Linked DNA regions of Homo sapiens: all the other regions are linked to region 1. The links are contacts of gene promoters, found by promoter capture Hi-C in blood cells and fetal thymus (Javierre and others, 2016). All regions are on one chromosome and are shown on one strand. The core of a region is centred on a gene start or on the middle of the fragment in contact, and the rest is flanking DNA. Distances in the headings are between cores, read along the strand shown.

Region 1 (3,485 bases), core at 517-3,016:
ATATCTAGAATCTGTGCTTTTAGTTTCACTACGCTACTCAAGAATATATGCAACTTTTATTAAGCATTTCATATTTACAAAGCTTTTTAGAGTAAAAACTAGATGTAGTTCAACAGAACTAGATGAAAAGTACAACTACATGTTTGGAAGCACATTTTCTCAAGCACTCCCATGGTATACTGTAACACCACTGCAATTTAAAAACTTACTCTTTTCCCTTGACCTCTCTTGTTCCAATTAAGCTTGTCTCCTCTGTAGTGTGGAAAACAACAGAATATTCTCGATAATAACCATTAATACACATGGCTCTGCTTTTGAACATGGTATTGGGGGAGGGGGTACAATGCCAATCAGTTGTTCTAAATGACGGCCGTACTGCCCCTTGAGGGACATTTTGGAGATTTTAAGGGCATTTTTGGTTATCAAGACAATTGGGGGACATTTAGTGGGCAGGGGCCAGGGATCCTATCCTGGAAAATTCTGGTCAGTTCTTCAAAATTAATTGATCTGAGTCCTGCAAAAATTTTAAATGCTCTGCCAGAGCAAATCTAATGCTAATATGTAGATAAAACTGAATTTTAAAAACGAATTACAAAAAAGTCCAGTAATTTAGAAGCTTAAATAAAAAAGCAATGGCTGTCTCAAAATCATTAAATAATTGAGGTACTCTTTGAATCCTGACTATAGTTCCACATATATTTAGACGAAATATCTCTGGGCAATGGTGCACTTAGTGTAAATACATATGGAGAGTTGAGATGCCTTTTAGCAGACTTAGAACAGAATATCAATAAATTGTAGGACATGCAAGAATGCTCACTCATGAAATTTCACTAATAAACGTTGTTATAAAAATTTTTCCACATTATTGCCATCTAGAGATTATTATTTTTGCACGATAGGAAATTTAGATTAGGCGAAAGTTACTTATTGATAAGGACCATCTCATTTGTGAAACTATTATTCGTTTCCTATTCTTCACTGTCTAAATTCTGTCTAATTTGTCTGGCATGTTTTCCCTACTTAAGTTAAATAGAAGAAAAAAGGAGAGTTAATTTTTTGAATGCTTAATTTGGGTTTGAAAAGCTTTTAAAGCATTTTGAAGTCTTCTATATTCATTCCAAAATAATTTAAGCTGTATACAGGCAGTCTCTGCTTACAGTGGGTCGACTTAACGATTTTTGACTTTACCATGGGTTTATGGGTATTGACTGCATTTTGTACTTAACAATGGGTTTCTCGGGTATCCCCACGTACAGGGAGCATCGACATATGCCTATTGAGTTAAAATAATATATGCGCCAACATAAAGCTAGAAAATACAACCGCAAAATCACCCGCGAGCCGGACGGCCAGGGAAGCGGTTAGCGCTGTGACGCCGGCGCGCAGGTGAACCGTGAGAATCGCCTCTCACCTCTGGCCGCGGAAGGTCCGGGGCGTGGTCGATACGGACGGCGGAGCTGACGTAGTCGATGCGGTTCCGTTCAGTGGCCGTGAAGATGTTGTCCGCCCTGGCTATGTCCTCCGGGCTTGGGTCAAAGATACGCAGGTGAAGGTCTTGCCTCCCGTAGGGGGCGAGGAACCGCTCTACTTCCTGCAGCGGGTACAGCAGCTTCCTCAGCTGCTGCTTCGGCAGCCGCAGCACCTCAGCAAAAGCTTGGGACGTGCTATTATAGCGGCTCAGTCGCTCTAGCACCGCAGGCATTTCAAAGAGTCTTCCCGCTCCCAGCCGCAGCCCGGGCGCCGCCATTCTCCCTTCCCAGAAGACGGGCAGAGAGATTTTACTCCTGTGGCCTGGGTTGCGCGTGCGTGACTTCCCGCTGCCGCGACGCCTGCTGGGAGTTGTTGTCTCCTCTGGCCTCGCTCGTTCCGGTCTAAGTGTTTTGCCTTCAGTGCGCGGGAGGAGGGTGGAGGCAGGCGGTGACCTGCGGGGAACAGCTCACTGGGTTTCTTTAACACCGTGGGCTTAACGATTATGTCTTACTGGAAGGATGTTTAACGGTTTGCAGAGGTGAAAGACCTATCTGGCCATGTGGCCTTTGAGTCTCAAGCGAAGGACTAAAGTGTGAAGCTCCGATGCATTCCAGGAACGTTTGATTTTCACAGTTTTTGGTTATCTTATTAACTGTTGACGTTTGTCGTAAGTCCGCAGCACTAGGATAAACACTTTTGCAAAAAAGAAAAGGGCTGATGAGAAATGTGATTGTAATAGCACCTCGTTTTCGTGGAAGGGACTGTTTGTATTTCCGCCTTCACTATAGGTGCAGGAAATGTCATTAAATTTTAGAGATTTCTTATAAAAACAGTTTTGCACAGATGTTACAGAATTGTTTCGTGGACGTTTCGTAATATCATCTTATTTCAAAAGTTTCTCCCTAAAGTCGATCAGTACTGAAATGGGAGATACAGGTATCATAATGATGAAATGAATAACTGAAAAATATTCATATGTTAAAAAAACTAGGTTTTCTAAAACATCAGCAGCCCAGAAAGGGTAACTCATGGTTTCTTGAGCTATTCCCCAGGTTGTTCAGTAATTAAACAGTACAATTCTTGAATAAATATGATACAAAAATTAATGAACAGAACCTGCGACTTTGAGGGCAGCCAATACGGCAGCCTGATGTGCTGCTGGCTGGCTAATTTTTTATTGCTCTTTGCATTAGGGTTTGGGGTGCCTTTCTGTTCGCTATTCTCTCTCCTCCATGTATAAAAGTGTGTATAATACTCTGTTGTATACATCAGAAATTTGGGATTCTCATTAGTGTGTGTTTCACTCATCCATGTGAAGAGATCACCAAACAGTCTTTGTGTGAGCAACAAGGCTGTTTATTTCACCTGGGTGCAGGTGGGCTGAGTCCCAAAAGAGAGTCAGCAAAGGTGGTGGGATTATCATTAGTTCTTATAGGTTTTGGGACAGGCGGTGGAGTTAAGAGCAATGTTTTAGGGGCAGAGGGTAGATCTCACAAAGTACATTCTCAAGGGTGGGGAGAATTACAAAGAAACTTCTTAAGGGTGGGGGAGATTATAAAGAACATTGATCAGTTAGGATAGGGCAGAAACAAATCACAATGGTGGAATGTCATCAGTTAAGCTGTTTTCCCTTCTGTGGATCTTCAGGCCTTCTGGATGTATACGTGCAGGTCACTGGGGATATGATGGCTTAGCTTGGGCTCAGAGGCCTGACGCTGTGTATGTAATATACTTTGAAAGTGCTTTTATACATGCCATTTTGTTTTCAAACCTTGGAACCCCAGGTTTGGAAATAAGAGCATAAAAGAGTTTTGGCGATTCTTAGAAAGGTTTTAGAGGTGTTCCGGGATTAATAGACATTATAGTATTCATTTAATAATCATTCATGTTTCTGAATTCTAAATCATTTTGGATTTCACCTGATAGGACAAATCATTTTAGAATTATTTGACAGGACAGTTTTTGCAACAAATTGTCTTGTCATGCAAAGCTTGAAGGATCAAACGGTCTAC
Region 2 (3,485 bases), core at 496-2,995, 390 kb after region 1:
GAGAAGAAGGAGAAAGATTGGAGAAAGGTTGGTTGTTGGAGCAATCAGAACATACACACATTTATTAAGTTTACTGTGTTATATAAGTGTGGTTCATGGTGCCCCCAGTAATTATAATAGCAACATCAAAGATCGTTGACTACAGATTTTAATAACAGAGATAATAATGAAACAGTGTGAAATATGGCAAGAATTACCAAAATGTGACACAGAGACATAAAGTGAGTACATACTATTGCAAAAATGATGTCAACAGACTTCCTTGATGCAGGGTTGCCACAAACCTTCAATTTGTAAAAAATGCAGTATCTGAGAAGTATAATAAAATAAGATGTGCCTGTACTTACTTGCTAATGGACCTATTACCATACTGGCATCTTATAAAAAAAATTACAAGGAAGGAGATTATATCCAGGGATTCTTTTTGTTTTCAAGGCAAAGGTTACCAAGTTACAATGGACCAAAGTAGCTGGAATGCAAAGGAGTATAATCCTTGTCTTTGAAAAAAGAGCATTTGTTTCAATCATATGGCATATCAAAGTAAACTTTCTCCCTTCCTCCCTCCTTTCGTTGCTGCTGCTTCTTTTTTTTCTCTTTTTTTTTTTCTTTTTTTGGAGAGGGTCTCACTCTGTCACCCAGGCTGCAGTGCAGTAGTGCAATCTTGGCTCACTGCAAACTCAGCTTCCCTCAAACAATCCTCCCACCTCAGCATCCCAAGTTAGCTGGGACCACAGCCATGCTCCACCATGCCCAGCCATCCTTGCTTCTTTACTACATTTCTTTTTTCAACAAATATTTATCAAGTAATATTGTCAAGTAATATTTATGAGCTTCCCCTCAGATAGGCATTTAGCATCATGATGGCACCATCCTCTAACAATAATGGGAAGGCTATTTTCCACTGTTATTAATCATTAATTCTCCAAATCATTTTAGTATTATTATTAATTCTAATAAGTACAGAGATTAATAAATGCATTCAAACCACATGTGAATATTTGCTATAGGTTTATCTGTGCCTACTGTATGTTCAGATTTTTCTTTATATCTGAACTTTGTTATAAATAAATGACAGTAAAAATGGAATTTATAGTTCAATGAACTTGACAAATCACTTATTCTGCCATTCATTTTCCATAAAGACCATTCATTCTTCCTTGTTTTACAGGTAACTGAGCTCCAGAAAGCTCAAGTGACTTTAGAACTCAGTTCTTAGTGTGTGAATTATGCTCCCATCTCATCCCTCTTCCTTGATGGAGCACTTTCCTCCTCATTTTTTCTTGGATAGTCTGTACAAGCTGCCTGAGGTGTGCAGGAAAGTGAGCCACGTCGAAGTGTACTGCTTTTAAATTTTTGCCAGGATGAAGCATAGCCCAAAGTTGCCAATAAAAATGGATTTCTTTACCTTTCTGAAATTGTGTGATGACAATTTCTAAGTAAAGGACCCAAATCATGTCAACTTCAGGAAATATAATAATGAGGGAGCCAGGAGCAGTGAGGGGCTCACACCTGTAATCCCAGCACTTTGGGAGGCCAAGGTGAGCGGGTCGCTTGAGCCCAGGACTTCGAGACCAGCCTGGGCAACACGGCAAAACCCTGTCTCTACAAAAAAATACAAAAAATTAGCTGGGTAAGGTGGTGTGTGTCTGTGGTCCCAGCTATTCAGGAGGCTGAAGTGAGAGAATCGCTTGAGCCTAGGAGGTCGAGGCTTCAGTGTGCCGTGATCGTGCCACAGCACTCCATCATCATCATCCTGGGTGACAAAGTGAGACCCTGTCTCCCCACCAAAAAAAAGAGGGAGTTTCATCTCCCAAGAAAATGAATTAGATAGGAATAATAGAAAATTTACTCTCAGAATAATAGGGTTCTAGCTCCTGCAACCAAAAAAAGATAGTTCTTTTTTACAACCTGAGATTACTTTTTCAAGCATTTCTCCAGTTCCACTGGCATTGAAATAATAGTTAGCAATGCATCTGAGCTTTTCTTCCTCTAATGAGCAGGCAGAGAAGTCATAGATCATCATTTGGAGGACTATAAAATAAGACATAGCTTAGCAAAAGGACCAAAATACATTCAGAGGAGGATGCTATTGGTGAATGTCCTCAAAGCCTATAATCTGGAAAAATACAAGGCATATCTCTGAAACTGTGAGGATTAGCAAACTAGCTAACCTGAATCTCTGTCTTCTGGTAGTATAAACTAGGTAGTTTCAAATCTGAGTAGTTTCTCCATAAAAGCATTTCTTCCCAAACGTTTCTTACCAAACTCCCAAATAAATGAGAAAAATAAAATACAGTTTTATAATTTTTGAGAAAGATTATGGGATTATGGTATTTAAAAAGAAAAGCATTCTGTAGAGTTGGGGAAATCTGGAAGACTCTTGAGGACATAGCTTTGCCGAAATTGCTGGTTGTCACAAGACTCTTCAAAAACTACTTTTCATCAGACATCTCCCAGGGCTCTGAGGTGAATATTAATTCAGCAGAAAGATCCTTTTCTGCTACATAGGCAGGAGGTCCAGACACAGGGGAGTGGGTGCAACCCAGCTGGTCCCATTTTCTGTAATATAATTAACAATGAAGCTCATACTTTCTCAACTTCTAGAAGCCTGGAGGATGGAAGCAGCCCGAGAGTAGGGTGAATGATGGCCTCAGTGGGCCCTTCTTAATGTGTCTCAGTACTGAATGTGTGGAGATTGTAGAAAAATAGAAGGCCCTTGGAAAAAACCTCTGTTCGTTTCTCTGTTCGTTTCGCTCCCTGATCTCCCTGCCGGATTGCTTTTCTTTCCTTTCTCTTCCTTGGCTGTCCTTTACCTCATGGTGTGGGGTGTGCAGATAGCAGGTTGTGGCTTGGTGAGTGCTCTTCACTTCAGGTCAAGGTGAGGCACAGTTAACATGCTAACTACTTTCCTCAGTTCTCTCTGAGTTGTGTAAAGCTCCCGATGCCAGACTTCCTCTTAATTTTGCACATTATTAAAGTCCAAAGAGTTAAGATTTGGTGATGAGGGGCAAAGGGCCAGCTGTCACAGAAATCAATGAAATGATACACAGAAATGGGTATCATGAAAAGGCCACTGGACTTGGGAAAACTGGGTGCCTGTCCTTGCCCTGCCATGTACTTACCTGTGTGACTGGAGGTGAGATGTTTTACCTATGGGCCTCAGTTTCTCATTACAAAATGACAGAGAAGACTAGATACCTAAGTTCCTAAGTTTGTGACATTTGTGAATTTTTCTTGGCCCTCTGTGAGTAGAGTGCTAAATTTAGAGGCTTCCTGTGGTTGAACTGATGTCCAATTCTCAGGGAACCCAGACTTCTCAGTTCAGAACCCAGTTCCAGATTTTTGTGGGAATAGGGAAAGGTATTAAATAACTCCATTGAATTCTTTCCTGCATAATGCCCTGCTGTGGCTGAGACTCAATGAGGTCATCACCTCCAACACACAGAACCCCTCATCATCTCCTTACAGCCAGACTGGAGCTTCCA
Region 3 (3,485 bases), core at 602-3,101, 370 kb after region 1:
AGACTTTTACTGGGCCTTGAAAGCAGGGGCACACATCCAACTACAGTGTGGGCCGTACTCACCAGCTGGTCCATCTTGCTAAAAGTATTTGGACATCACTGATGAACCTACAAACGCCAAGAAACTTACCTTAAGATTTTAGGCTTTCATGTAAATAAAGTTATTTATGCTTGAGCAAATTCCAATGCCTATCTGGTTTTGTCAGCACAGAGTATATTGCATGTGGGGTTTAAAATGGCCTAACACATAAAGGCATTCTTTCTTGTTAGTGATATCTAAAATGTCAGTCTAGGATAGGAATGTTGGGTGTGTATGTTTAGTGAATGGATTACAGACAAATTTTGTCAGATAGGAAAAAGTTGCTGGCTAAAGGCACTTCATTGCAGAATGAAAAAAGAAGTGGGGGGAAATGCACAGCAAGCATGTTTCTTTCTTAGCAATATTTAGAGATGAAAAATATTTTAACATTGGCATTTTATCACCAAATTTTAAGAGCTAGAATACACAGGACATTTAATAGGGCAAGGGAAGTTTTTTGATAACTTCTTTCAAAGAAAGGAGAGTTTGAGGGTAATCAAGAGAGGTAGCAAAGTTCATGGAGGTGGAATATGGCAACAAGGAGAGAGAAAATGTTGATTTCTTACTATCTAATGACTTCATAAGTCAATTTTTAAAATGAGAATGGTACGCCAGGTGCAGTGGCTCATGCTTGTAATCCCAATACTTTGGGAGGCCGACGTAGGCTGATCACTTGAGGCCAGGAGTTTGGGAACAGCCTGGCCAATATGGTGAAATCCCATCTCTACTAAAAATACAAAAATTAGCTGGGCATGGTGGCAGATGCCTGTAATTCCAGCTATTTGGGGGGTTGAGGCAGGAGAATTTCTTGAACCTGGGAGGCAGAGGTTGCAGTGAGCCAAGATTATGCCAGTACACTCTAACCTGGGTGACAAAGTGACACTCTGTCTCAAAATAAATAGATAAATAAATCAATAAATAAACAAAATGAGAATGATAGTATACAAATCAGTCTAAAATACCCTTTCTGTCTGATCCTGTTGAAGAGAATTGTTCTTTCTAGAGAAACCTCAGTCATCAGGATCCACAACAATTCAAAAATGCTGCTTTGCCTCTGGGGCAGTCCTGAAAAATAGACCCTTTTCCCCCAACTTCTCCTTTCATCAGTGGTGACAGTGCCTGGCAGCTGCCTTCTCTAGACCCTGCAACACTGAGCTGGGAGGAGAGGCAGGATGAGTGCTCAGACTTCCACACAGTGGCTGTGTGTCCCCCTCTGCTTTGATAAGTCTTTACTTATCAATCATTCTGTGCCCTAGAGACTAGAGAGCCTGTCTCCTAACCTACTCAGTCTTCTTAGTCCACTGCCCTTGCTGCCTCCAACATCAAGCATATCAGTGTCAAGACCAATCCCTGACATTCCAAGGGGGAAAAGTGCCTGATATGTCAAATGTACAAAACAAGTGTTTGAAGAATGTAGTGGAGGGATTGGCTCTTCCAATTGTAGTCATCAGATAAGGTATTGAAAATATCAGAGAATTTTGAAAAGTAGGTTGATTTAATGGAGGGACCTTGAAAAATGAGTAGGTTTTTTTTCTTTTGATAGAATAATGACTAGATCAAGGTATTTTTGTTTTTGTTTAATTTTTCAAAGAAATACTTTTTTTAAATTTTCAAAGTCAAAGCTATATAAAAAGGTGTACACAGACAAGTCTTGTATCCTTCCTGACCCCTTTACCCTGCTACTCCCTGCACCCACAGGTAATCATTTTTGTTAATTCCTTATTTATTCATTTAGTACTTTTTTAGACAAATACAAATAAATACCTATATATTTTTCTTTTTATACAAAATATAGCATATTATATATATTGTTCCACACCTTGCTTTTTTCACTTAAAATATTTCTAGGAGATCTTTCTTTATGAGTATATAGCAATCTTCCCCATTTCTTATCAAAAAATTGTGAGATTCTCTCATAGTTTAAACATTTTGTCCATGGACACTTGGACTATTTTCAATATTTTGTTCTTACACATATATCACACATACATAGAGCTATATATGAACAAGGTTACGATTAAATTGTGAAATTGTGTGTGCATCTTTCCAATACAGTCTAAGAAACAGGATTGTTAGACTAAATAGAAAATGTAGTCTGAGTGGATACTTCCTGATTTCTCTCCACACAAGTTGAATCATGTTGCAGTTCCAACAACAATGTTTAAATATGTCTATTTCCCCAGACCTCTCCAATTAATGTGTGTAATCAAACTTTTGGATGCTTTTGACCAGTGTAATATGTGAAAAATGGTATCAGTATAGGGTAGTATTGATTTGCATTTCTCATGTTGTGAGTATGATTGAACACATTTTCATGCTTAGGGAGCATTTATATTTCCTTTTTAGTGTTCTTTGCCCATTTTTCTATTGCGTTGTCATCTTTTTCATCCCAATGCATAGGTACTCTATATAAATTGGAAAAAAATTCAGACTCCCACCTCCCCTTTCTACTCCAAGATAATGACTCATTTGTTTAGGAATGAGGTCCAGGAATCTATATTTTAAAATGTTGCTCAGGTGATTCTGATTTGCTATTAGGTTTGATCTAGAGCAGAAGGCTAGGTAGAGGATAAGAGGTGAAGAGAGGGCTAGAAATGTAGTTTGGCACCTGAAATTAGATTTCTAATACCAAGATAAAGTATTCAAACTTTATATGTAAACCATGTGAAGTCACTAAATATTTCTGAATATATTTTTCAAATATATTTATAACTTTAAGATTTGATGGAGTCAATCTGTAGGACAGCAATTCACTTGGACAGGACACACTCTTTATTAATAAGACAAGTTGCTCTTTCTAGAGAAAAAGTGATCAGGAATGGCCAGGGTAGTCCCACCTATCAATTTAATCAGGTCACTCATCTCACAGTGGGGTAGTAGATAGGAAAATGACCCACTCATAGAGTAAAAGGGGAGTAAGCAGATCAATTGCAAAGTAATTTAAACTTATCCATTTCCAATCAAAAGGAAATAAGTTCCAAGCTGGAGGCCAAGGTTATCCTAACTGAAATAACCTGCCATGGACTGCTCAGCACTCCTGGCAATGTTCTTGAGAATAAAAGCAATTTAGCTTCTGCTGGCATCTACCTCCTGGCTTATGCAAAGCACAACCAAGAGAGTTTTGGCCCCTACTGACTTCTTGAAAAGAATCGTTATATTTTAAATGCCTTACAAATATGTTTTATTTAAAAGACCTAATGCATGCAAAACCAATTTTAGAAAAAAATATATATGAATGTGTTTTCTCAAATTACATTAGACTGTGTTGCGGGTTCACAAGATCAAAGGAAAGTGTGAAGGTTTTATGGTGGGTTTTCTACACAGTCCCAGAATCACTCACCTTATCTATACCTTATTACTGTCTTTTTCATATATCTTTCTTATGGGAGAGTTCTAGTGATTACCAA
Region 4 (3,485 bases), core at 578-3,077, 280 kb after region 1:
TACTGACTTTCCAGCTTTTTGTTGAATATGCTGTGTAAAATTGTGACTATGTGCCTTAAAAATGACTGGCAGTGTACACTGATTCCCAAATATAGATGGAGACTATAAATTGACATTTTTAGGGAGAAACTCAACACTTCCCACCCAACAAAGGAAATACAGAGCTAAGTTGGCAGGGCTCAGCAACTTGGTTCTATAGAAAGCAGGTGCAGAAGGTAGTGGCCCTTGAGAAGAGAAAGTGAACTGATAAAGCTGGATCTGCTCTATATCAGGCTCTTTGTCCAATATTTCTATTATTCTTATGCTTCTCCCTACCATCCTGAGGCTTAGCACCCATCCCATGAGCCTCTGTGGGTCTTTCTGCTGCACCCACCCAGGGCATCAATAGTTTCTTTAATTTTTGAAGACTAAGTTCTTCGTGGCAGCAGCTTTTTTTCCAATCCCATCTTTTTCTTCCAATGCAACTCTTCTTAAGGGTTCCAAAATCAAAATCTGTATTCACCTAAGAAAGTGTGGTGGGGCAGAGAGCTTCATTTGTACGAAAGAAAACCACTTAAGCTTCTGATACTTGTTCATGTAGACGCTAGCTGTGTTTCCGAATCACCTGGGAACTTTAGAAAACTACAGATGCTTAGGCCTTACTCCCAGAGCTTGGGATTCACTGGTCTAATGTGCAGTCAGGGTTGAGGTCACTATGTAGAACCTCATGTATAAACAGAAACAGACAAATGAGAATACCCTGAGGAAACAAATAATTTTAGGAACAGAAAAGATGTGTGTGTGTGTGTGTATACACACACAATATATATGTGTGTGTATATATATATATAGAAATAGAGAGAATCAAACAATAGTATATGACAATAATATAACATGCAACAATAATATATTTGTTACTTTATTTGTTACAAATAAGTATTTGTTACCAAAATTATTTGATAATATATACGTAGTATCAAATAATTATGTATATATACATACATATATGTGTTTGTGTGTGTGTGTATATATATACACTATTATTTGAGAATTTTGAGAGGCCATCACAACTGTGAAATAAGCAAGAATGCTGTAAAAAAGAGAAAACATTTGCATATAGAATTTAGGACCCTTTTAAATTTTTTCTTTCCTTGCTTAAACACCCCCATTTCTTTTACCCCAGGATTTTCAACCTTAGCACTGACATTTTGGGTCAGATAATTCTGTGCATTTCAAGATGTTTAGAAGTATTTCTGGTCTCTACCCACTAGATCTCAGTAGCATAGCCCCTCCCCAACCTGAACTGTACTAGGTCTCCAGCAAGGGTTCTTAACTGGGCTGAAATGACTGAAATGACAGAAATAAAATTCAGAATGTCGATAGTAATGAAGATCATTGATATTCAGGAGAATATTGAAACCCAATTTAAGGAAGCTGAGAATCACAGTAAAATGATACAGGAGCTGAAAGACAAGATAGCCAGTATAGAAAATAATGTAACCAACCTGATAGAGCTGAAAAACACTCTACAAGAATTTCATAATGCAGTCACAAATATTAACAGTAGAAGAGACCAAGCTGAGGAAAGAATCTCAAGCTTGAAAAATGGCTTTTTGAAATAAGATAGTTAGACAATAGTAAGGAAAGGAGAAAAAAAGGAACAAACAAAACTTCTGAGAAATATAGGATTATGTAAAGAGACCAAATATATGACTCATAGGCATCTCTGAAAGAGATGGGGAGAATGGAAGCAACTTGGAAAGCATATTTAAGGATATCACTCATGACAACTTCCCCAACCCAACTAGAGAGGCAAACATTCAAATTCCAGGAATATGGAGAACCCCCACAAAATACTTGACAAGATCATGATGCCCAAGACACATAATCATCAGATTTTCAAGGTCAAAATGAAAGAAAAAATGTTAAAGGCACCTGGAGAGAAAGGACAGGTCACCTACAAAGGGAAGTCCATCAGACTAACAGTGGACCTCTCAGCAGAAACTCTACAAGCCAGAATATATTGGGGGCCCATATTCAACATTCTTAAAGAAAAGAAATTCCAACCAAGAATGTCATATCCAGCCAAACTAAGCTTCCTAAATGAAGGAGAAATAAGATCCTTTTAGACAAGCAAATGCTGAGAGAATTTATTACCACCAGACCTGCCTTACAAGAGCTCTTGAAAGCAGCAATAAATATAGAAAGAAAAGACCATTACTAGCCACTACAAAACACACACCTAAATACACAGGGCAGTGACATTATAAAGCAACCACACAGACAAGTTGGCATAAAAACAGCTAACAACAGGTGACAGGATCAAATCTATATGTATCAATACTAACGATGAATGTAAATGGGCTAAATGCTCCCAATGAAAAGGCACAGACTTGCAAACTGCATAAAGGAGCAAGACCCTATGGTATGCTGTCTTCAGAGACTTATTTCACATGCAGTGACACCCACAGGCTCAAAATAAAGGGATGGAGAATAATCTACCAGGCAAATAGAAAACACAAAAAAAGCAGGGGTTGCAATCCTACCTCCAGACAAAACAGACTTTAAACCAACAAAGATCAAAAAAGACAAAGAAGGGCATTGCATAATGGTAAAGGGTTCACTTCAACAAGAAGACTTAACCATCTTAAATATATATGCACCCAATACAGGAGCACTCAGATTCATAAAACAAGTTCTTAGAGACCTACAAAGAGACTTAAACTTTCAAACAATAGTAGCAGGAGACTTTACAACCCCACTGGTGGTATTAGATCATTGAGGCTGAAAATTAACAAAGGTATTCAGGACCTGAACTCAACACTGGACCAAATGGATCTGATATACCTCTGCAGAACACGCCACCCCAAAACAACAGATTATATATTCTTCTCATCTGCACCTGGTACGTACTCAAAAATTGGCCACACAATTGGACATAAAACAATCCTTAGAAAATACAAAGGAACTAAAATCATACTAACCACTCTCTCAGACCACAGTGCAAAAAAATAGAATTCAAGTCTAAGAAAATTGCTGAAAACCATATGATTACATGGAAATTAAACAACCTGCTCCAGAATGACTTTTGGGTAAATACTAAAATTAAGACAGAAATAAATAAGTTCTTTAAAACTAATGAAAACAAAGCTACAACATACCCAGAATCTCTGGGACACAGCTAAGACAGCGTTAAGAGGGAAATTTATAGTGCTAAATGCCTACATCATAAAGTTAGAAAGATCTCAAATTAACAACCTAACATCACAACAAAAAGAACTAGAGAGGCAAGAGCAAACCAACCACAAAGCTAACAGAAGCCAAGAAATAACCAAAATCAGAACTGAACTGAAGACAGCTTTTGAGATACAAAAAAACCATCTAAAAGATCAATGAAGCCAGGAGTGGGGTTTTGAAAAAAAAAATAAGATAGATAGACTGCTAGCTAGACTAATAAAGAAGAAAAGAGAGAAGATGCAAGTAAACACAGTCGGAAACAACAAAAG

What was found. Contacts are between HindIII fragments. The CHiCAGO score rates a contact against its expected background, and 5 or more counts as called.
Region 2: a fragment that was not itself captured here is called in contact with the fragment with the promoter of GTPBP8 in region 1 in 1 of 17 cell types (M1 macrophages); the score reaches 5.4 in M1 macrophages.
Region 3: a fragment that was not itself captured here is called in contact with the fragment with the promoter of GTPBP8 in region 1 in 3 of 17 cell types (M1 macrophages, monocytes and megakaryocytes); the score reaches 7.0 in M1 macrophages.
Region 4: a contact is called between a fragment that was not itself captured here and the fragment with the promoter of GTPBP8 in region 1, in 2 of 17 cell types (M0 macrophages and monocytes). The highest score is 6.0, in M0 macrophages.

The regions. Positions count from the first base shown.
Region 1 is chr3:112,989,265-112,992,749 of GRCh38, reverse strand. It overlaps GTPBP8 (GTP binding protein 8), which reads right to left and starts at 1,766. Exons shown (of 6, transcript NM_014170.4): 1 at 1,415-1,766. The coding sequence starts at 1,750. RefSeq lists enhancers at 1,509-1,718, 1,597-2,224. The HindIII fragment of the contact is 1,807 bases long and covers 1,659-3,465 here.
Region 2 is chr3:112,598,806-112,602,290 of GRCh38, reverse strand. It overlaps CCDC80 (coiled-coil domain containing 80), which reads left to right. Exons shown (of 8, transcript NM_199511.3): 8 at 1-3,485. Among named protein-coding and RNA genes, the nearest start is that of SLC35A5, 39 kb to the right of the region's middle. The HindIII fragment of the contact is 3,746 bases long and covers 1-3,485 here.
Region 3 is chr3:112,624,050-112,627,534 of GRCh38, reverse strand. All of the region lies in intron 3 of CCDC80 (coiled-coil domain containing 80), which reads left to right. Among named protein-coding and RNA genes, the nearest start is that of CCDC80, 15 kb to the left of the region's middle. The HindIII fragment of the contact is 4,682 bases long and covers 1-3,485 here.
Region 4 is chr3:112,708,336-112,711,820 of GRCh38, reverse strand. No RefSeq gene overlaps it. Among named protein-coding and RNA genes, the nearest start is that of MIR9900, 27 kb to the left of the region's middle. The HindIII fragment of the contact is 498 bases long and covers 1,579-2,076 here.